Linked DNA regions of Homo sapiens: regions 1, 2, 3, 4, 5 and 7 are each linked to region 6. The links are contacts of gene promoters, found by promoter capture Hi-C in blood cells and fetal thymus (Javierre and others, 2016). All regions are on one chromosome and are shown on one strand. The core of a region is centred on a gene start or on the middle of the fragment in contact, and the rest is flanking DNA. Distances in the headings are between cores, read along the strand shown.

Evidence for each region. The method cuts DNA at HindIII sites, captures the fragments that hold promoters and counts their contacts. A CHiCAGO score of 5 or more calls a contact.
Region 1: a contact is called between a fragment that was not itself captured here and the fragment with the promoter of ANKRD49 in region 6, in 13 of 17 cell types (naive CD4 T cells, total CD8 T cells, total CD4 T cells and 10 more). The highest score is 14.0, in naive CD4 T cells.
Region 2: a contact is called between a fragment that was not itself captured here and the fragment with the promoter of ANKRD49 in region 6, in 5 of 17 cell types (total CD4 T cells, naive CD8 T cells, total CD8 T cells and 2 more). The highest score is 6.9, in total CD4 T cells.
Region 3: a fragment that was not itself captured here is called in contact with the fragment with the promoter of ANKRD49 in region 6 in 8 of 17 cell types (megakaryocytes, total CD8 T cells, total B cells and 5 more); the score reaches 8.4 in megakaryocytes.
Region 4: a contact is called between a fragment that was not itself captured here and the fragment with the promoter of ANKRD49 in region 6, in 16 of 17 cell types (total CD8 T cells, naive CD8 T cells, naive CD4 T cells and 13 more). The highest score is 22.8, in total CD8 T cells.
Region 5: a contact is called between a fragment that was not itself captured here and the fragment with the promoter of ANKRD49 in region 6, in 4 of 17 cell types (total CD4 T cells, naive CD4 T cells, naive CD8 T cells and 1 more). The highest score is 7.2, in total CD4 T cells.
Region 7: a fragment that was not itself captured here is called in contact with the fragment with the promoter of ANKRD49 in region 6 in 1 of 17 cell types (M0 macrophages); the score reaches 5.7 in M0 macrophages.

The regions. Positions count from the first base shown.
Region 1 is chr11:93,727,359-93,730,779 of GRCh38, reverse strand. CEP295 (centrosomal protein 295) reads right to left here. Exons shown (of 30, transcript NM_033395.2): 24 at 3,143-3,421; 25 at 1,959-2,099; 26 at 1,250-1,346; 27 at 999-1,166; 28 at 811-910; 29 at 632-731; 30 at 422-549. The coding sequence ends at 511. SNORA25 (small nucleolar RNA, H/ACA box 25) reads left to right here and starts at 134; the gene lies at 134-267. It also overlaps a transcript of TAF1D not described here. The HindIII fragment of the contact is 1,275 bases long and covers 675-1,949 here.
Region 2 is chr11:93,679,796-93,683,094 of GRCh38, reverse strand. The region is part of intron 7 of CEP295 (centrosomal protein 295); the gene reads right to left. Among named protein-coding and RNA genes, the nearest start is that of CEP295, 20 kb to the right of the region's middle. The HindIII fragment of the contact is 3,806 bases long and covers 64-3,299 here.
Region 3 is chr11:93,699,048-93,702,416 of GRCh38, reverse strand. CEP295 (centrosomal protein 295) reads right to left here. Exons shown (of 30, transcript NM_033395.2): 15 at 2,231-3,369. Among named protein-coding and RNA genes, the nearest start is that of SNORA25, 30 kb to the left of the region's middle. The HindIII fragment of the contact is 676 bases long and covers 970-1,645 here.
Region 4 is chr11:93,787,918-93,790,928 of GRCh38, reverse strand. It overlaps MED17 (mediator complex subunit 17), which reads right to left. Exons shown (of 12, transcript NM_004268.5): 2 at 2,762-2,928; 3 at 136-355. Among named protein-coding and RNA genes, the nearest start is that of MED17, 5.1 kb to the right of the region's middle. The HindIII fragment of the contact is 216 bases long and covers 1,422-1,637 here.
Region 5 is chr11:93,641,078-93,644,164 of GRCh38, reverse strand. No RefSeq gene overlaps it. Among named protein-coding and RNA genes, the nearest start is that of CEP295, 19 kb to the left of the region's middle. The HindIII fragment of the contact is 6,443 bases long and covers 1-3,087 here.
Region 6 is chr11:94,492,734-94,495,705 of GRCh38, reverse strand. ANKRD49 (ankyrin repeat domain 49) reads right to left here and starts at 1,722. Exons shown (of 3, transcript NM_017704.3): 1 at 1,671-1,722. It overlaps MRE11 (MRE11 double strand break repair nuclease), which reads left to right and starts at 1,862. Exons shown (of 20, transcript NM_005591.4): 1 at 1,862-1,915; 2 at 2,800-2,924. The coding sequence starts at 2,905. RefSeq lists an enhancer at 1,423-1,512. The HindIII fragment of the contact is 5,313 bases long and covers 1-2,972 here.
Region 7 is chr11:93,769,657-93,772,581 of GRCh38, reverse strand. No RefSeq gene overlaps it. Among named protein-coding and RNA genes, the nearest start is that of MED17, 13 kb to the left of the region's middle. The HindIII fragment of the contact is 3,035 bases long and covers 158-2,925 here.

The sequences.
Region 1 (3,421 bases), core at 63-2,562, 760 kb after region 6:
TCATGTTCACTCACTGTACACTCATCTCTGGAAATGTAAAATTTACTTTTATACTATTGTTATGTAGGGCTGACAGGACAACTGGATCAGTTTCATTAAAAAGGTATGTATGCATTAGAAAAGACATTTGTATGGGTCATTTCAAAGAGGGCTTATGAGGCTGTGAAACCCAGAGCTCTTAACGCTGTGACCAAAGATGGAAGTTCTCTATAGGAAGCCATAGCACTCCTAATGTTTGGTGCTATGTTTTCCTGAGGAGATATAAAACGTAATAATCCAGGATTGTTGCCATGTGAGAGTTTTAAAGGTTAATCAAAATTTCTCTTCTTCAGGGCAAACTTGAAGATAAATCTTTTGACTCCAGCTCTTTAGAGGATCTAAAGTGACCTTGATGGACAGTGGAAGAAATCACAACATGGAATTCCTCGAATAACAATTTATTGACTTTAAATAATTTTGTCTAATGCTACATATACACAATTAAAAAACCTTTACACTATTTCTAGAAAGTCAGCATGTATTTTTGGCTCGAAGTTTCTCTAGTGTTTTCTGTGGAAGGAATAAAAATTTGAGTTTCAGTTGTGTACTTCATGCTTGAAAAATTAAGTCCTTCTCCCTCAGTTATACTCACCTTATGGAATTCTTTTGCCCTTGCTCTGTTTTGGGCATAAGCTTCTTGTTTTGTTTTTTCTTCCTTTTGTTGTTTCACTTCAGCTAGTTGATTGTATAACCTGTAAAGAATTTATATAGAATTAGAGACAAACACTGCAAAAAGTGAATCACTAAAAAAAAAAAAAAAATTAACCCTACCTTAGACCCCTTTGGTGCCTTAGAGCCTGTGTAGTCTTTCTGTCTTCAGGAAAAGATGCTCTGACTTTATTCACGCCCTTTAGACGACTCACAGATGAACCTGAGGAAAGAAAAGTGAAATCAAGTTGTAAACACAAGGCTTTAAACATTTCAGGGAGTTGGTTGAAGATTTTAAAAATTCAACATACTTATAGATGGTTTCTCTTTAACTGTTTTGATTTGAGAATTTTCAGAGACATGAATTTTATTCCTTATTTCTTTCTGCCTCTGGTGGGATCTCTCCATAAATGATTTTTTCCTCTTTATAAATGCTTCTTGTAAGCTCCCTGGTACAGGTGTAAGCCTGCGAGGGGTTTCTGCTGGGGGAAAAGAAATTTATGACAGAAATAGGCAAAGTATCTACTTTCCATTAGAAGTGTGGAGGCCGTCCAAGGCTTACCTGTAGATGCTGTCCTTGGTTTTTCTATGGAAAGTTCTGATACAGCTGGATAATCTGAGGCTTCTGTTGCTGATACAAGAGGCAGAAACTCACTCACCTAATGGCAAGAAAGTTGCATGTTTTACTCTTTTTAAACGCTTTAAGCGGGTCTTGCTCTGCTGTCAGATTAGAGTGCAGCGGCATGATCACACCTCACTGCAGCCTCAATCTTAGCTGGGTCTACAGAGACCCGCCACCATGCCTGATTTTTGTATTTTTTGTAGGGATTGGGTTTTGCCTTGTTGCCCAGGCTGGTCTTGAACTGGGCTTAGGCTCCACTGCCCTCACACCTCTAGGCCTCTGTTTAGATAGCTTTATTCTTATTGCCTCCCTACTCCCCTAGTAAAATTACCAGTTGTTCTGAAGTCATTTTTCAATATCTGGGAATAAGTTTAGGTAAAACTTCCAACTTGGCACTATAACACTAGGTGTATAAGATTAGTTCTGCCAGTCTTGGAGACAGGCATAAATTGGAGTGGGGATTAAAAGAAAATGCACAATGGTTGACAGAATAGTGAAGGTTTAAGACAAATTGAGAGCTGGTGGGGGTGTCGGCTTAGTTAAATGCATAGCATAATTCCCTCCAATGAGTACCTTCTGATAAGTTGTAAGAGACAAATCAACTGGTTTGCTTGTAATAGAATAAAATAGAAGGAAAGCTTAAATTTACCTGAAAGAAGCATTTTGCTTCATTCTCGCTCTTCTCTTCTAGGGTTAAATTTGCAAAATCCATTTCAGCAATACTGGTATCAGTGGTGCTTATTAAAGTAAGTTCTGGTTCTTCCATTATACCATGGCCAGTTTCTGTTTCCTGTGAACCACAATTAAAAGGAAAACCATGTCAAAATAGCCTTAAAAGACTTAAACTAATCGTTTTGTATATAATGCACATTTTTTGCAAGTGTATATAAATGTGAAAATGGAGGAAGAAAAGCAATGATTGGCAAAGACCAACAGATCAGATTTCCTTAGGCTTCCATAACTCCAGCATTCAGTTGTAGAAATACTGGAGCCTACTTTGGGGAGGGGATGAAATAGTGTGACAATGGACTGAAAGGTATCTACCACAATGATTACAAACCTAAATGCTTGTAGTGTTGGGCAAAAAATATAAATGCAGGTTGGCTGTGCCGAATTGTATCCTTTAAAGGGAGCAGGGGTCGACTGGGCTGCTACCAAATGTGGGCCACTGACTGCTAACAGATAATGTTTCAAAAGTATCTAAACACAACAAGAACAAAAGCAGCCACATAAAACGTGGTTTAGTTGTAATTCTTATTTTCAATCTGTTATGTTTATTTGTGGAAGGATAAACTGCACATACTGCTAGATGAAAACCAGTCACCAGTTGACTGGTGTTGAAAGCAAGCAGATTATAAGTTGCTTAATATGAGGAGCAGGTTTCCAATACTTATTCCAATAATGGATGAATTCATTGCACTGGAATGAGGCTCAACACTGAAAGTGCTGAAGCACAGGCAGAACCACCATTTTTCAGGGAAGTTGGAGAAAGGATATCTGAATTGGGAGAAAAAGGATCTTTTGTAAAATACTCTCAGAAGACAGTTTTCAAATTTTTAAGTTTCTGCATTATGCTGGATATTTCTAGTGATCACAAGCTGGATAGCAATATTAACAAGCAGTTTTGCTTGTATTTTGTTTCAGGTTTTTCCTGCCAGGCATTGTGGTGTGTCCAAACTACTTCGGAAGTTGAGGCAGGAGGATCCCTTGATCCTAGGAGTTTGAGTTCAGCCTGGGTAGCATAGTGGGAACTTCATCTCTAATTTTAGAAGAAAAAAGTTTTTTCCCAAAAAGGAATTTAAATGTTATTTATACAACACTGATTTCACTTACCCAGACTGGTATAGAGCTCTGTAATGAAAATGATCCAGAACTTGCAAAAAGCTCTGATTCTCCTAGTTGAGATAGTTTTTTGGTGATTTTTGGAATGTCTGTTTCAGCTGAATTCTCAAAATATTTTTCATTTTGAGTAGTTAAGGAATATGGTGCCTGAATTGAAGTTCCCATCTCCACTGTTCTTACACATAATCGAGAGTCAGTTTCCTCTACCTGTGGATTTATGTCTAAAACCCTACAGGTTTCATTTTTATTATCTTCAATGAGTCCTTGACT
Region 2 (3,299 bases), core at 717-3,216, 810 kb after region 6:
TGTTACCTCACACTCTTATGAATTTCCATTATTAAAGGAGATCTGAATGTATTTCTTTAAGCTTAAAGAGTATGGCTAATATGAAAGTTTAATCAGTGTTTTAATGAGGTTATCTAATGGAATTTTGGTGGTAGAAGGTAAGGAGGGAGAACAAGGCAAGACTTCTTGTTCCTTGGGATGGGATAAGGATTTAGCCAGACAAAAGTGGCTGAAAGAGAATGAGTACATGTAAGAAAAAAACTGCAGCACAACAGTATGGAGATGAAGGCACGGGATATTCAGAAAATAGCACACTGTTCATTATAGCTAGGGCATGGAGGGCAAGGATGATTAGGGAAGGAAGATAAAACTGGAGAAGCAGGTAGAAGTCAAATATTAGTTAATATAGACACTAGAAGGAAATAAGGTCCCAGGCCACAATACAGTATGCAGCAAAAAGGTTCAGACAGGAAAAATGAAATCCTCTATTAGCAGTGAGATTGCACGGTTTTTTTTTTTAACAACCTTCTTATATAAGGAACATTAAGTCTACTATAACGTAGAGAAATCCTGCATTAAAAAAATGGTAATGGGCCAGGCACAGTGGCTCACACCTGTAATCCCAGCACTTTGGGAGGCCAAGGCAGGCAGATCACCTGAGGTCAGGAGTTCGAGGCCAGCCTGGCCAATATGGCGAAATCCCGTCTCTACTAAAAATACAAAGAGTAGCAGGGCGTGACGGCATGCGCCTGAAATGCCAGCTACTCGGGAGGCTGGGGCGGGAGAATTGCTTGAACCCAGGAGGCAGAGGTTGCAGTGAGCCAAGATCACGCCACTGAACTCTACCCTGGGCAACAGAGTGAGACACTGTCTCAAAAAATAAAAAATAAATAAAAATAAATTAAAAAGTGATAACATATATACATTACTTATTCTTTTGTAAAGTTTTAACTATTTTGTCTTTTGAGGATGAATTTTTTTTGCCATGTCCTGAAAAGGAAAATTATAAATGAACTTATTTCATTTATACTAAGATTCTAATTATCTAAAGTTGTTTGAGTAAGTGTACTATTCTAGCTCACTGCAAGCTAGTATATTATTCCTTTTGGATTATTTATAACAATGACCACTACCACTAACATTTACTGAGCTTATGAAATTCCAGGCACATTTCCAAGGGCTTTGGAAAACTCATTGAATCCTCACAAAACAGATGATCAGGAGAGGTGTGGCAGGGGAGGTTAAAAAAAAAAAACAAAAACAAAAAACAGCCAGGCTTGGTGGCCCACACCTGTAATCCCAGCACTTTGGGAGGTCGAGGCAGGCAGATTGTTTGAGGTCAGGAGTTCCAGCCTGGCCAACATGGTGAAACCCCGTCTCTACTAAAAATACAAAAAACTTGGGCTGGGCATGGTGGCTCACGCCTGTAATCCCAGCAATTTGGGAGGCTGAGGCAGGCGGATCATGAGGTCAGGAGATCGAGACTATCCTGGCTAACGTGGTGAAACCCTGTCTCTACTAAAAATATAAAAATTAGCCAAGCGTGGTGGTATGTGCCTGTAGTCCCAGCTACTTGGGAGGCCAAGGCAGGAGAGTCATTTGAACCCAGGAGGTGGAGGTTGCAGTGAGCCAAGATCACGCCATTGCACTCCCGCCTGAGTGATAGAGCAAGACTCTGTCACAAAAAAAAAAAAAAAAAAAAAAAAAAAAAATTAGCTGGGTGTGGTGACGCGAGCCTGTAGTCCCAGCTACTTAGGAGGCTGAGGCAGGAGAATTGCTAGAATCCGGGAGGTGAAGGTTGCAGTGAGCCAAGATCCCAGCACTGCACTCCAGCCTGGGCGACAGAGTGAGACTCCGTCTCAAAAAAAAAAAAAAAAACAACACATGAAACAGAACTTAGAGAGGTTAACTAATCTGCCTGAGATCAAACAGCTGAGTGGTGAAGAAGACAGATAAATCCTGGCAGAATGACTGTGAAGCCCACTTGCTTAACTACTAAACATTACTGCTTTTATGGAAGAATCTGTTCAATTTATGACTGCTTTTTGTGTCTGTTTTACTATAGGTTTAAACCTTAGATGGGGAGAATTACTGATAATAATTCAGACATTCAGTTATTTTAGTCATAATTCACTCCTAGTTTATGAAAGCTAAAAATTTAAGGGAGAAGCTCATGATTTAGTTCAAACTATAAAAATAACCTTTCATAAGAAAATTTAATTTCCAATGCATTTTTAAGAAGTACTTAAAAACTCATTCCTAAGATGGGTATTTAAAAAATCCAAATGCATTAGTCAAATTCAGAAAATAAAATCAGACTTCTAATAAGATGAATCATTTTTATGCTATATTTTAAGACTAAGCACTAAATGAACAATAAGCATGACAGAAGTTAAGCTAAAACTATAAAGCCAGCTTTCATTACAATATTTTACATATTGATGACAGTCACTATTTATTGATTGATTGACAGAATCTCACTCTGTCACCAGGGTGGAGTGCAATAGTGCAATCTCGGCTCATGACAGCTTCTGCCTGCCAGGCTCAAGCAATCCTCCTACCTCAGCCTTCTCGGGAAATGAGGTCCCAGGCCACAACACAGTCCCAAACTGGGACTGACTGTATTGACTCTGTAGTCCCAGGCCACCACGCCTGGCTAATTTTTGGAATTTTGGTAAAGACAGGGTTTCACCATGTTGCCCAGCCTGGTCTTGAACTCTTGGGCTCAAGCCATCTGCTCACTTTGGCCTCCCAAAGTGTTGGGATGACAGGCCTGAGACAGGCCTGAGCTACCTCGACTGGACTTGACAGTCACTTTTTATTTAATTTTTTTTGAGACAGGGTCTCGCTCTGTGGCCCAGGCTGGCGTGCAGTGGTATGGTGTGATTTCAGCTCAACGCAACCTCCTTGTCCCGGGCTCAGGTGATCCTCCCACCTTGGCCTCCTGAGTAGCTGGGACTACAGCCGCACACCACCATGCCTGGCTAATTTTTCTGTTTTAAGTAGAGACGTGGTTTCTCCATGTTTTCCAAGCTGGTCTTAAACTCCCGGGCCTATGCGATCTGCTCGCCTTGGCCTCCCAGAGTGCTGGGATTACAGGCATGAGCCACCATGCCTGGCCTATTGACTGTCACTTTTTAAAAGCTCCGGTAGCAAGGATCATGACTTTATTTTTGAAACAACATTCTGCAAAGCCAACAAGTGCTTTGCTCAATACAAATTTAATGAACTGAATCCTCAAATTTATAGAGCACATATGCTATTGAAATAATCAGGAAAGTGATTTTTTTCCTCAGGCTGTTTTTGGACATATTAAAATA
Region 3 (3,369 bases), core at 58-2,557, 790 kb after region 6:
TCATGTGAAGCATTATTCATTAGATTTATATCTCCCTTCTTAAATTAGAACGTAAACCAAATAAATAGTTCCATCAATCACAAAATTTTATCTATATATAAAAAATAAGATATGCTTCTAATGCCAAAAGGATATTTCCATTGAAAATACAACCATTCGGCCAGGCGCGGTGGCTCACGCCTGCAATCCCAGCACTTTGGGAAGCCAAGGTGGGCAGGACACCTGAAGTCAGGAGTTCAAGACCAGCCTGGCCAACATGGTGAAATCCCGTCTCTACTAAAAATACAAAAATTGGCTGGGCGTGATTGTGCATGCCTGTAATCCTGGCTACTTAGGAGGCTGAGGCAGGAGAATCACTTGAACCTGGAAGGCAGAGGTTGCAGTGAGCCAAGATCGTGCCACTGCACTCCAGCCTGCAGCCTGGGCAGCAGAGCAAGATTTCGTCTCAAACAACAACAACAACAACAACAAAAACAACAACCATTCACAGCCTTGGACTTAAAAACTTAGCCTACAGCCAGGTGCAGTGGCTCACGCCTGTAATCCTAGCACTTTGGGAGGCCGAGTTGGGCAGATCATGATGTCAGGAGATTGAAACCAGCCTGGGCAACATGGCAAAACCCTGTCTCTACAAAAAATACAAAAGTTAGCTGGGCATGGTGGTGCATGCCTGTAATCCCAGCTACCCGGGAGGCTGAGGCAGGAGAATCGCTTGAACCAGGGAATCAGAGGTTGCAGTGAGCCAAGATGACGTCACGGCACTCCAGCCTGGTGACAGAGCAAGACTCCGTCTCAAAAACAAACAAACAAACAAACAAAAAACAAACAAAAAAAAACTTAGCCTCCATTTCATCTTTCCATAAGAGATTATATTTGAGTATTTCCCTCTGCTTTTCTTTTGCCATTACTTTTCCTTTAAATGACCAGTAAATCTCTTGACGTTAACTCTTCCTGAACCCAACTCAAGCTTCTTCTCGACATCAAAGGATTTGTAGAATTCTATTTAGACTAAATAATAAATTTAGGAAGTGGCCTTTCATTTATTTATTTTTTTGAGATAGGGTCTCCCTCATCGCCCAGGCTGGAGTACAGTGGCATAATATGGCTCACTGCAGCCTCAACCTCCTGGGCTCAAGTCATCCTCCCACCTAAGCCTCCAGAGTTGCTAGGACTAGAGGTACATGCTACCATGCCTGGCTAATTTTTGTATTTTTTGTAGAGACAGGGTTTTGCCATGTTGCCCAGGCTGATCTTGAACTCCTGGGCTCAGGAGATCCACCTGCCACGGCCTCTCAAAGTGCTGGGATTATAAGGCCTGAGTCACCATGTCCAGCAGAACTGGCCTTTTAAAATAAAACAGATACATTCAAATTTAGAACATACCCTTGTCTCCCAGATAGGGCAACTATGAATGAGTCACTGGGCCGAGTCTTATGAACAATTCAGATAAAAGCAGCAGGTCCAGCTCTACATCAGCCTAAAATCATGCCCGTTTTACAACAAACCATAATAGTGTCACTTGAGAAAAAAGATGGTATTGATTTTGATTTGTATATAAATGTCAACAAAGAGCACAATGTCTGTTGCTGCATAAGAGAAATTCTGCTAACCAGTTATTTTTACAATTTAAATCTTATGGTAAGCTTAAAATACATTAAAACAAAACTCTAAAATAAGAATCTACATTGTTTTGTGGTGTGTTTGCAGGTGAAATTAATTGAGCTTTGGGTCAGGTGTGGTGGCTCACACCTGTAATCCCCGCACTTTGTAATCCCAGCAACATGGGGAAACCCTGTCTCTATTAAAAAAAAAAAAATACAAAATTTAGCCAGGCATGGTGGTACATGTCTGTAATCCCAGCTACTTGGGAGACTGAGGCACAAGAACCACTTAAACCCAGGAGGTAGGGGTTGCAGTGAGCCGACATGGTGCCACTCTACTCCAGCCTGGACAACAGAGCGAGACCTTGTCTCAAAAAAAAAAAAAAAAAGCAAAAACAAAAGAAAATTTAAAAAAATTAATTGGACTTCACGTAACTATTAACCTCATAAACACCATGTGGGTGGATCGATTTTTGTTTTAACTTCCACATCATTTAGGGTGAAAAATCAAAGCACAGTTAAGGTCAAACTACTTTTTCTCAATAACTGAAAACTTGTAATCCTAGTATTAAAAACTGATTTGGGTTTAAACTTCTAGTGTTTCATTATTATTCAGGTTTAAAACATACCTGACTGTCTTTAAAGAAATCCTTCAAAGTCTCTTCATGTTTCTGTATCTGCTGCTGCAATGCTGTTTGTCTCTGTACAAGCAATTTTTCCTGGGCTTTCTGGCTATAATGCAGAACTTCTCTTTGTAGATCCAACTGTTTCTGAAGTCCCAAGTTATCTTGCTGAGTTAAGACAGACTGTGAAAAACTCAAAAGTCTATCTTGAAACCCTGGGATCACAGGATTACTTGGGGGGGCTGCATGTTCATTCTGGGATGAATACAATTCACAAGTGCTTTTAGGTTTAGCTTCTGCAAAAGGTAGTGGAATAAACGAATGCTCTGTTTCCTTGGGTAGAAACAAAGAGGGGATAGTATGCTCAGCAGATTCACTTTTGTTCAACTTTCTTTGTTTGTTTAAAGACAGTTCTTCCTGGGGTTTCTCATAAGAATACATCACTTCCCTTTGTGCATCCAATTGTGCTGTCATATTATCTTGCTGAGGCAGAATAGGCTTTGATAAACTCAAAAGTCTATCCTGTAATCTTGGAATCTCACGATGACTTGAGGGAAGAGTATCATTACTTTTGGTTGGGAAAGACTTCTGGGTTCTTTCAGAGTCAGCAACAGGCACCTGGGATACAAATGAAGAGGAGCAAACTTGTTCAGATGATACCCTTTTCTCCAATTCACTTAATCTTTGCAAAAGCAATTCTTCTTGGACTTCCTGTATAGATCGAATGGCTTTCTTCTGTGTATCTAACTGCTGTTGAAGTGCCTGCAAATCACCATGGTGAGACTGGATAAAATGCTCAGAAGATACCTTTTCCTCAAATTTACATGGTTTTGACAAAACCAATTCTTTCTGGGTTTTCTCAATAGAAGGAAGGAAATCTGTCTGTGCATGCAAGTGTTCTTCAAGTGCAATCAAATTATCTTGTTGAGGTAAAACAAGATGTGATAAACCCAACAGCCCATCAGGCAATGTTGGTATCTCTGAGTGACCTGAGGATACTATATTATCACTGTTAATTGAACATGGTTCTTGGTTTCTTTCAGATTCATTAAGAGGTAATGAGGCGAATGAATGCTGTGGTACTAGGGGTAAGGAAGAGGTGTCAACCTGCTCGGGAGATATTCTTCCCTCCCATTCACTCTGAT
Region 4 (3,011 bases), core at 280-2,779, 700 kb after region 6:
TGCCATGTTGCCTGGGCTCATCTTGAACTCCTGGCCTCAAGTGATCCAACTGCCTTGGCCTTCCAAAGTGCTAGGATTACACGCATGAGCCACCACACCTGGCCAGAAAGTATAGTTTTTAATAATTATTCATACCTGCACTTCTGTAGCTCAGATCTCCGAGAATTTTATCTCCAACTTTTCGAAGTTTCCAGTGTTGCCGTAATCGCAAAAGCTCAGAATTGAAGTCTCTTTGTAGCTTGTTTTCTTGGTTTTCGGTAACTGATTTAGTCAGTCTTTCTGCCCCCTTCAATAAGATTTGTGCTGCTCCAGCAAGTGACTTCTTTTTAGATATCAATTGCAACGTCTGAGGATTCTGTCAAAAACAACCCAAACATGCAGTTCTGCAGGATTTTTAAATGACTCTAAAATTACACATTTTATCAATAATAAAATGAAGTGAACAAAAAGCAAAAAGGAGGGGCAAGTACACATAACAGTGTTTTTAATAAAATAATAACCTTAACCTATTTCTTTGTCCAACTCACTCAAAGCTTTACTTATGTTAAACCAAAAACACTACAATGGCCTCTACTCAGAACTTACCATTGCATCAACTCTGTCCAGCCTGTTAGGGTCCCCTCTTAATGTACTGCCATTCCTCTCCTTATATATTGCCAGCCCCCTATCCTGTACATACACACATATAGTTATATATAACCTTTTTGGCACTCATTATACTTCTGATTAACATCTATAATCTCTGCTTCAATGGTAACCTGCATGATGGCAGAAATCACTATATCCACAAACCCTAGAACAATGCCTGGCACATAATATTTGATTTAATGAATGAATGAATGACTGCAATGGGTATAACTGTAAAATTATCTTGTATTTTGTAGCTTACCATATTTTGCATCTTACCATAAGCTATTAAAGTGCTTTTGGAATTAGGACTAAAATCACACAGCATTAACTTTTTTTCTTTTGAGATGGAGTCTTGTTCTGTCACCCAGTCTAGAATGCAGTACCACCATCTTGGCTCACCATAGCCTTGACCTACTGGCTCAAGTGATCCTCCTGCTTCAGCTTCTTGAGAAGCTGGGACTCCAGATGTGCAACACCAAGCCTGGCTTTTTTTTTTTTTTTTGGTAGAGACAGGGTCTTGCTATGTTGCCTGGGAAAGTCTCAAACTCCTGGCTTCCTGCTTTGGTTCCCCAAAGTGTTGGAATTACAGGCATAAGCCACCGTGCCCTGCCATTGTTAATATTAAATGTACTTCACTGAATCCTAATTTTTTGGAAAACTGATCAGAAGTCACTATCTATGTATCACATATGCATATATAAATATCCACAATCACCATAATTTGTGTATTTTACTAACCAGTTTAATACAGTTTTCTGGCTGTATGAGAGTCAAAAATCACATAAAAAGCTTCATAAACATATCAAAATAATCTTTTGATTGTATTAGGGAACGTAAATAAAAGAGTTCCTGGAGATATTAAGAAATTCCTGGAGACTCCCTTCTGGGAAAAGCACAGAATAGTAGAAAAGGCAGTGGGGCTATGAGTTAGGTGCTGGAGTTCTAGTCTTGGCTCCCTAACTACTGGCTTGACAGCAACTTGAACATATTACAAATCTCTTTAAGCTTTAGTTTTCTCTCTATAAAATGAAGAATGCAGATTTAGGGAACTCTATTAGTCCCCCAGCACAATGTTTCTAGATTCTGAAACTATTACTATGTGAGTAATTCTATTCAATTAATTTTATTTACAAATGGGTTCTAACAGTCATTACTTCTTCTCCATGACTAATTTGGTTATGGTCTTGACACTTGTTTTCCTTAAGGACCCAAGTAGCCTCAATGATTTCAGACTATTCACCAACTCATCTTCCTGCTACTTCTCTTTCATCTTCAAATGTTCAAAAATTGAATACACTGTTTATGAAATAGCAGCAATTCTACCCAGCTCTCAATATGCTCCATAATTTCGCCTAACTTTTCTAATCCATCCCTTAAAAAAAAAGGGAAGGAAGGATTAGATGGAAAAACAGGGACTTAAGAGAAAATAACTTGCTTAATTTAAGGTCACACAGTTAATGAAGGCAGAGGCAGGATTCGAATCCAGGTCTACCTGATTCCAAAGCCATTATATCATCACATTTTTGTGTAATATATCACAGACCAAGGACCCAGGCTATAAGAATTTGTTAAGATTTGGTAACCTTTAAAGTATTACATTCTTTTTTTTTTTTTTTTTGGGATGGAATCTCGCTCTGTCGCCCAGGCTGGAGTGCAGTGGCGCGATCTCAGCTCACTGCAACCCCCGCCTCCCAGGCTCAAGCAATTCTCCTGCCTCAGCCTTCTGAGTAGCTGGGACTACAGGTGCCCACCACCACGCCTGGCTTATTTTTGTTATTTTTAATAGAGACAAGGTTTCACAGCATTAGCCAGGATGGTCTCGATCTCCTGACCTCGTGATCTGCCCGCCTTGGCCTCCCAAAGTGCTGGGATTACAGGCGTGAGCCACCACGCCTGGCCTTAAAGGTATTACATTCTTAATGAAACTTAACTCTTCCAAGGATCATAGGTATATAATAAAAAAATAAAGGAAATGCAGTTGTATGGCTTTGTTTTAGACCAGTTAGTCTTTAAATCTTCATCTGGACTTAATTTTGCAAGAAAGGAAAATGGAACAACAGGCACAAAGCCAAAAAAGGGTCCTGGGATTTAATAAATAAAATTTTATTATTCAATTAAAGTCCACAAATACCTGTTTTGGAGGAAGTGCATCCTGAGAGACAGGATCAAGAGTCATAAATTTTTTATCCCTAACAATACTGAGAACATCATAGAGAACACACATCTCTGTCAGGGCACTTCTCAAATTGTTCCTCACTGAGTCCCAAGGCCAAAGGGAAGGCTGAAATTTTACCACTCCTAAAAAGAGAGAGAGAAAAAAAAGAAATACAGAAGTATTCGTTACATTGAATGGCAGACAGCTCACTTAGGTTTAAAAAGTA
Region 5 (3,087 bases), core at 160-2,659, 850 kb after region 6:
TGGTAGGAATTCAAGGATGTGTGAATCAGTTATGCTGTAGTAACGAATGAGACTCCCAAATATCAATATTTATAACAATAAAAGTTTATTTCTCACTCCTATTTCCAGCATGGGCCAGTTGCAGCTGTGTTCCACATCTCTGTGCTGAGTCCAGGCTGATAGGCCAGTCTCTTCCTGAAGCATTCCCTGTTGTTGAGACCTGGGGAAAAGAGATGGCAAGCCATGCTCTGGTTCCTAGTGGCACTTCTCACTTTTCACTGGCCATGTCAGCCTTAGCTACTCTGGAGTTCAACAGGGAAGGCTTCTATAATCCTCACAGAAAGGAGAATCAGAATATTTGGTGGCAAGTAAATCTAGTCTACTGCAATGAGTCGAGGGTTTTGAGGAACACATTTGGGATCAAAATTCAGGGGTCAAGTACAATGCATGACAGCAGGGCCATAAATGAAAGGGAAGACCAGTAAGGCTACAATCCACCAGAACTGAGGAGCACAGGGATTCGGAGCAAGGGTGGGATCAAGTGGGACTGTATGGACACCCTGGGCAGTTTGTGTTCCCTGATAGGTGCTAGCTGGGACATGGATGAGCTGGCTGGCTTAAAGGTTCACAAATGTGCAGACTTTGGGAACACAGCTTGTTAGGGTCCATCTGAGTAGTGTGAGCTGTCCATCTGGTGTTTGCTGACCCTCATTGCCTTGTTTTCTGCTCTCCACACTGATCACCCTGGGGAAACTGAGGCAGCATGTTATACCAGTGAGGGTTCTAGAACATTTCCCAGGTCTATGGCCTTAAGAGGATCATTTTTGGACATCGAGTACTTCTTTCTTAAAATAGATAATTTATATTGGACTTATATAATAAGTCCAATTTATATTGGACTTATTATATGAGTCCAATAATTTATATTGAAGGCTTTTAATTTATATTAAAAGCCTTCCAACCCACTTTAAAGAACTTTTGATTTAAAAAACCCATTAGGAGAGCCTTGCAGATAGCTACTTGTCTGGGATAAATGGTGATATATGAGGAGAAATAATCAAGAATGTTAAATTAGCTTTGTTTTTCTATTACTTGGAGCAATATCAAGGTAAACTCTGCTACCTAGAGGAAAAGACAAAGAATCAGTGCAAACAGGAACTTGGATTAGGCAAAGAAGCACAGGATCCAATTCTTCCCCTTTTAGACCTTGAGAAAAAGTGTAAGTGAGTTTGGTTCAGCAGTCTTTACCGCTCCTTTATTTAGTGTTCATCTCACGAGTTTGGAAACTGTGCCTCCTCTGCCGTCTTGCATCCCACTCAATACATGTACTACCCAGATTTGCCTCTCAAGGCCTGTCTCAGTGTCCCAAATCTTTTTCCCACTATTGAAATTACCGTTTAATTTCCTTGTTTAAGAGCACTACCTGAGGAATCTGTGAATAGACTAACTCAGAATAAATGACTGGTAACCAGTCAATATGTTACTCTTCCTAGGAAAATTTGCATTTAAAATCTTCCCAAGGACAATGCTTCAACTAAGAAAAGACTGCCGTAATGGTGCAATATGAGGCAATGCAGCTTGCCAGTAGGGGAGTTGTTTTGTTAGGGGCCCTTCCCTGGTTTATTTCTAGTCTCTTCTAAATAACCTGTATTTATGAGCACCCAGCTTGACAAACAATTCAAGCAGCCCAGCTGCTGGTGGCTTCTGCATAGTACTGTACCACTTTTCTTTTCTTTTTCTTTTTCTTTTTTTTTCTTCTCTTTTTTTTTTTTTTTTTTTTTTTTTTTGAGACAGAGTCTTGATCTATCCCCCAGGCTGGAGTGCAGTGGCATAATCTCGGCTCACTGCAACCTCTGCCTCCTGGGTTCAAGCTATTCTTACACCTCAGCCTCCTGAGTAGCTGGGATTACAGGCGCCTGCCACCATACCCGGCTAATTTTTGTATTTAGTAGAGATGGGGTTTTGCCATGTTGACCAGGCTGGTCTCGAACTCCTGACCTTAGGTGATCTGCCTGCCTCAGCCTTCCAAAGTGCTGGGATTATTGGTGTGGGGCACCGCACCTGGCCCCTGTACCACTTTTCTTCAAGATAGTTGTGAATCTGGGTCTCAGGTGTCTATGCCTGCATGGTCAGGAAAAAACTAGTCATTGTAACACTAGTTATAATTTATCATCAGCCTTCATGATTTCCCAAGCACTTTCACGTGGATTAACTTTGTTGATACTCAAAAAGCCTATGATGGAGGCAGTGCAGGTTTATTATCCCCCATTTTATGGATGTGGAAACTGACAGAGGGATTAAGTGACTTACCTAATTAGTTTCTCTATACCCAATCCAGTGATCTTTCTTCATGTAGTGCTGCTCCTTCAGCCTCTGGCACGGCCTGGACTGCTGGTGCTTAGAGTTTGGATCAGGCGGGTGAAAGTGCAAGATGGCAGGGCCACATCATCTGTCAAAGCCACTGATGTTTGGTATACCTAGGACATGGCCACAGTGTTTTGCCACGGGGCATCACCTGGTGGGGGAAGGTTCCTATATTGGTATTCTGCATCTGTATGGGTATTGATTTATTTCTCAAAGGGCTCTGTCTGCCATCTATCTAATGATGTTACTAATCTTCATCCCAGTCCTTTGAGGATTTTTATCCCAGTGCTTCAGAGGTGCCGGTTTCCAGGGTTACCAGAAATCCATAGATTAAAGCCTTTCTCCAGCTTTCTTGTCAAGGTCCTTATCAGTAGAATTTTTTTCATCATCTTCATTTTCTGGATGGTGTGTCTCTTACAACTTTTCTCTTTTACTTCTATCTGCAGTTAGTCTGTGAAGAATAATCCCCGAGAAGCTGCTTTGTGCAGAAGATGTAAAATAAATTATAGACACTGTGTCCTCAATGATTGTTTAAACAAAACCCAAACAACCCTACATCAGGGCCAATGTTGTGAGGTGGAAAGTGCTCTGCTTTTGAAACCAGCAGATCTGGGGCCTGTGGGACCCATCTCAGCTTGTCAGTAACTAACTGTGTGGTCCTGACCTAGTCCCGTAATGGCTCCTGGCTGAGTTTGTTTTAATAACTGCCATATTGGTTTGGGAGGCTTTGATGAGATGATTCTG
Region 6 (2,972 bases), core at 473-2,972:
ACTGATGTTTATTCTGCTAAGCTGCCATATTAATTTTTAAACCAATATCAGCTTAAAGGGTTACACAACATATAAACCTTAATCAATTAAAGAAAAGGAGAATAACCAATAGATAATTTACAAATACGAATTCCCAGCCTCTCAACTCTATTTGTTGAAATATAATCAGTCTTTCAAGGCTCTTCTCTGATGTTATCTCTTTCATTCTTTCTTGATCCTCTCATTTAGATCGCTTTCTGCTTTCTACTTTTTTTGGTGCTACATTTCACCTCTAACTTTGTTCTTGTTTTAGCCCCTTAAAAGATTATAAGCTGAAAGATAAGGACCACATTTAACTTATATTTATCTCCTACTTGTCTATAGAAGGCATTAAGAAGTATGTGTAGCATTACATTTAATTAAAGTCTTGTCACTTGATTTTGCCTGGAATGGATTCTGAGAAGTTCCAGAGTTAGGCATAACCCCAAGATACTGATTTCTTGATACCTAATCTCACAAGTTTAACAGTATACAATCTTAATGTGGTATTAAACTTTATTACTAGTGGCAATAGCACTAAACTCAAGTTTAAATGTATTACTCATGTCCAGTAACTTTTCTGGTCCTGTTACTTTATTGTAAAATGTAAGAATTTTACTAAAGTATTCCTAAGGCCAATCCGGCTTTTCAGTCACCCAATCAGAGACACCCTTGGAATCAGAGATATCCAATCAGAATTGCTCTGTGTTTTATTAATTCTCCTGGAGCTTCCACTTTTTCTTTGATTCTCAAACTAATTCCTGAACCTTGCAACACAAAAATGACCATACATCAATTCATTAAACACTTAACAGATGCTAATAAATAAAAGTTCACTTGTAATTATATCAAATATAGTAACCTTATACCACAGATCTTACCCTCTCCCCCAACATGCTTTTCCTTTCAATAAAAACTCCCTTTATATAAATTTTGAGTTTACAGATCCAGATACAAAAAATTATGTACAAAATTTTACTGGTATATTTAGTTTAAAAAGCCAAGCCTAGGCGCATCTACCCGACTTACAGTTAAGAAACAAAACTGATGACTTGATGATGATATTCCTGATATTCCATCAGGAATGTCAGGGTATGTTTCCTAACTTAAAGGGCATATCCTATTTTGAGAGAGATCCGAACTATGTCAACTCCTTACAAACAACTCAGTGATAGGCGGGGCTATAAACCTTACTGGTGAAGGAGGTTCAGATAGATTAAAACAACTTGCCCTAGATCAAGGACCCTTCAATGGAACTGAAAGGGCAGACGTTCTAATTCAAAAGTTCTACATTATTTTTCGCTGCACTATACATCTTACTGCTCTCAGCACAAAGCAGTGCAGATGTGCTGAACTCAAGGACCTAGGGGCGACACCTGTAGAGGGTCTGGCGACTGGGAGGGAGGGAGAGGGGATCCAGCTCCGGCACTCTGCCACCAGCCGGGAGCTCACAGGCCCGTGAGCTCCGCCTGCGGCCTTCCAAACAGCCAAGAGCGGAGAAGCGGCTTCGGTCCTACCTGGGGACCACGAAGCGGCCTGACCTGCAGGGCTCGGCCTGTGTCCACAGGCTACCCACCCCCACGGGCTCAGGAGTTCTTAGATGGCGCCGGTCCATCAAAAAGCGAGGTCCGGGACAGGGAATAACAACCCACCTGACAGAAGGGAAAATCGCCGCCTTGCATCTCACTTCCGGGTTCGTCTCCTAGCCTGCTCAGGATTGGCTCCTGCGTGAGGGCGGGGCCTCGCCGCTACTTTCCCCGCCCCCTCACTGCGTGCGGTAGCCAATGAGAGCCGAACTGGACTTGAAGCATCTACGTTATCCATGAAGTGTCGCGAGAGAAACGGACGCCGTTCTCTCCCGCGGAATTCAGGTTTACGGCCCTGCGGGTTCTCAGAGGCAAGTTCAGACCGTGTTGTTTTCTTTTCACGGATCCTGCCCTTTCTTCCCGAAAAGAAGACAGCCTTGGGTCGCGATTGTGGGGCTTCGAAGAGTCCAGCAGTGGGGTAATTTAGGAATCGCATTCGTCTCCTGTTTCTGCAGGTTCCCAGGCGGAAGCCCAGAGTTAACTGGAACCTCGGGAAGAGCGGGCCGAGTGGGCAGGGGAGGGGTCCTGGCGGGCTCAGCGTTCTGATTCCGAGGTTCCCTGCGGTGAGGGCGTGTTGAGGCTTGGAATCCCGACGGAATCTGGAGCTCCAGATGTGGTGGGGGTTGTCTCGCGGTGGCAGCCACTCTTCCCCAAACCTGGCTATTTTCAGTCATCCTGCTGGTGCTTAAAGGTGTTCCTCCGCAGACCACGTGTTTGTTTATTTACACTCGCTTTAAACGCGGGCCCGTTCCCTTTTCCAAACTAGCCAGGTCCTTTAAAAAAAATCGTGGGGTTTGAATAGGAAATACAGGATTGCCTCTGTTCTCCAGAGTAACCTATGCGTGCAACTTAAAAATATCTGCACATCTAGAGTTGTTTGTGTGTTGAACCAGAACCGTATGTGACCCTTTCTGCCCATTTATTTAGCATACATTAATTTCCCATAAGAGCACGGGAAAGGAAAATAGGAGTTTAATCATCTTGGTGAAACTAGGAAACAGGATGTACACTGGAGATATATTATTTTCTATGCTCAGTTCATTAAAAAAAAGTATAGTGGGTGCTTAGATGAAAATGAGACTTCTAAATTTGCCAGTCTAATTAAGACGTCTGTACCTTGTGCAGCGTAAATCATGTTGGTTAAATACGTGCAGGCTTTTAAAAAATGTGTTTTATGATGTAATTTTGTTTTTAGAATTTCTAGAATTTGGAATCGAGTGCATTTTCTGACATTTGAGTACAGTACCCAGGGGTTCTTGGAGAAGAACCTGGTCCCAGAGGAGCTTGACTGACCATAAAAATGAGTACTGCAGATGCACTGTAAGCACCTGACTTCTGGAATCCCTTGTTATTTGGGGTTTCTAAAGC
Region 7 (2,925 bases), core at 426-2,925, 720 kb after region 6:
GTAACACAAACAGGGCTGAAACATGCCCCTTGCTCACCACATTGTGGGTGGAGAGAAGAAGAGCGGCAGCCCTTTGGGGAGGCCAGACCTGGAAACTCCCTGAGCCAGGGCTGTGACTCCCTCTTTGAGGCCCTGCAGTTTCTGATGTCTCCAAGCTTCCGGACACCACCGCATTCCCCAATGCCAGCTGGGGAAGCAGCTTGTAGTGCACCTGGTGCAGCCAGCATGTCTGACTGTGCAGTGGCTGGATCCCATACTTGCTCAGATACCCCTCACCTCTCCATGCCTGACTCACAGTCTTTCTTGGAGGCATGGGATCCCAGCCAGTAGCATGAGCTGAGCACAGCCTGCCAGGCTGAATGGGTGGAATGAGTCCAGTGTGCCTGAACAAAGCTCAAGCAAAGGCACTACCAGCCACAGGTTTCCAGCCAGAAAAGTGACACCCCAAAGATCCCGTAACAAAACTCCTGGGCTTAAGCAATCCTCCCACCTGGGCCTTCCAAAGTGCTGGGCCTACTGGCATAAGCCACCATGCCCAGCCCATTGTTTAATTTTCAACTGTTCTGAAAGGGATGCTTTTTTTCATGCAAAGTTCTATATTTTGTAATTGTGTGGGAAACAGGTTGTTGTGCTAAGTCTTGGTGCTGGCCAAGGCTTATTCCATCTTGGCCAGCACCAGAAGTTCAAATTCATGTTTGTTTGTTTGTGTTTTTGTTTTTTTTTAAAGATGAGGTACATTAGTCAGAGTTTTCTAGAGAGACAGAATAGGATAGATGTATATATGAAGGGGAGTTTATAAAGGAGTATTGACTCACACAATCACAAGGTGAAGTCTCATAATAGGCCGTCTGCAAGCTGAGGAGCAATGAAGTCAGTCTGACTCCCAAAACCTCAAAAGTAGGGAAGCTGATGGTGCATCCTTCAGCCTGTGGCCAAAGGCCCAAGAGCCCCTGGAAAACCACTGGTGTAAGTACAAGAGTCCAAAAGCTGAAGAATTTGGAGTCTGATGTTTGAGATCAGGAAGCATCCATCACGGGAGAAAGATAAAGGGTGGAAGACTCAGCAAGTCAGCTTCTCCCACCTTCTTTTGCCTGCTTTTTTTCTAGCTGCACTGGCAGTTGATTGGACGGTGCCCACCCACATTGAGGGTGAGTCTGCCTTTCCCAGGCCACTGACTCAAATGTTAATCTCCTTTGGCAACACCCTCACAGACACATTGAGGAACAATACGTTGCATCTTTCAATCCAATCACGTTGACAGTATCAACCATCACACAAGGTCTCACTCTGGTCACCCAGACTGGAGTGCAATGGCAGGATCTCAGCTCGTTGCAGCCTTTGCCTCCTGGGCTCAAGCGATCCTCCAGCCTCAGCCTTCTAAGTAGCTGGGACTACAGGCATGCACTACCACATCTGGCTATTTTTTTGTGTTTTCGGTAGAGACAGAGTTTCTCCATGTTGCCCAGGCTGATCTCGAACTCCTGGGTTTAACAGATCTGCCCACCTCAGCCTCCCAGAGTGCTGGGATTACAGGTGTGAGCCACTGTGCCTGGCCCATGTATTCTTTAGTAAATTTCTCTTGTTATGATATTCAGTTTCCTTTAACATGTTGTTAAAAGAAAAATTTTAGACAAATTAAACGGAGCTTAATTGAACAAAGAACAATTCTTGAATTGGGCAACCCCCAGAACAGAATAGGTCCAGAAGTGACTCCAGTGCTGCCAGATGGTTGGAGAGGATTTAAGGACAGAAAAAGGAAAGTGGCCTACACAAAATGGAAGGGAGGTACAGGAACAGCTGGATTGGTTACAGCTCAGCATTTGCCTTATTTGAAGGTGGTTCGAACAGTTGGCCGCCTGTGAGTGGTTGGAGTATGGCTGCTGTGATTGGTTGAGACTTGGCTACTTGTTACAAGAGTAACAGTCTGTGAACCCAAAATATCTGAGACAGGTCTCAGTCAATTTAGAAAGTTTAATTTGCCAAGGTTAAGGATGCACTGTGACATAGCCTCAGGAGGTCCTGACAACATGTGCCCAGGATGATCAGAGCACACGTTGGTTTTATACATTTTAGGGAGACATGAGACATCAATTAATCTGTGTAAGATACACATTGGTTCCCTCAGATAAGGCAGGACAACTCTATGTGGGGACTTCCAGGTTAGAAGTAGATAAGAGATAAAAGGAAAAGGTTGCATTCTTTTGAGTCCTTGATCAGCCTTCCACTGAATACACAATTTAGTCTGGCTCAGTGACTGTGCATATTGTTTTTACATAAACAATAGGGCAGAGAAAACAATCAGATATGCATTTGTCTCAGGTGAGCCTCAGAGGGATGACTTTGAGTTCTGTCTGTCCTTTGTCCACAAGGTATTGTGGACAATTGTGAGGGAGGTATATAGCTTCTTCTCTTTGTAGCTGTCTTATTTAGGAATAAAATGGGAGGCAGGTGTCTGACATAGTTCCCAGCTTGACTTTTCTTTTGGCTTAGTGATTTTGGGGTTCCAAGATTTATTTTCCTTTCACAAGTCCATTTACACATCCAGTTAGATTACATTTCACTAGGTATGGAGAAACTTTTAGGCCAAACTTAAAATATGTAAGGAGGCAGCTTTTAGGCTAAACTTAATTTAACAGTGTACAGTACAATATAGGGCAATACTGGCCGGGTGCAGTGGCTCACGCCTGTAATCCAAGCACTTTGGGAGGCTGAGGCAGGCGGATTACCTGAGGTCAGGAGTTCGAGACCAGCCTGGCCAACATGGCAAAACCCCGTCTCCACTAAAAATACAAAAATTAGCTGGGCCTGGTGGTGTATGCCTGTAGTCCCAGCTACTCCAGAGGCCAAGACAGGAGGATCACTTGAACCTGGGAGGCGGAGATTGCAGTGAGCCAGGATTGCACCATTGCACTCCAGCCTGGGCAA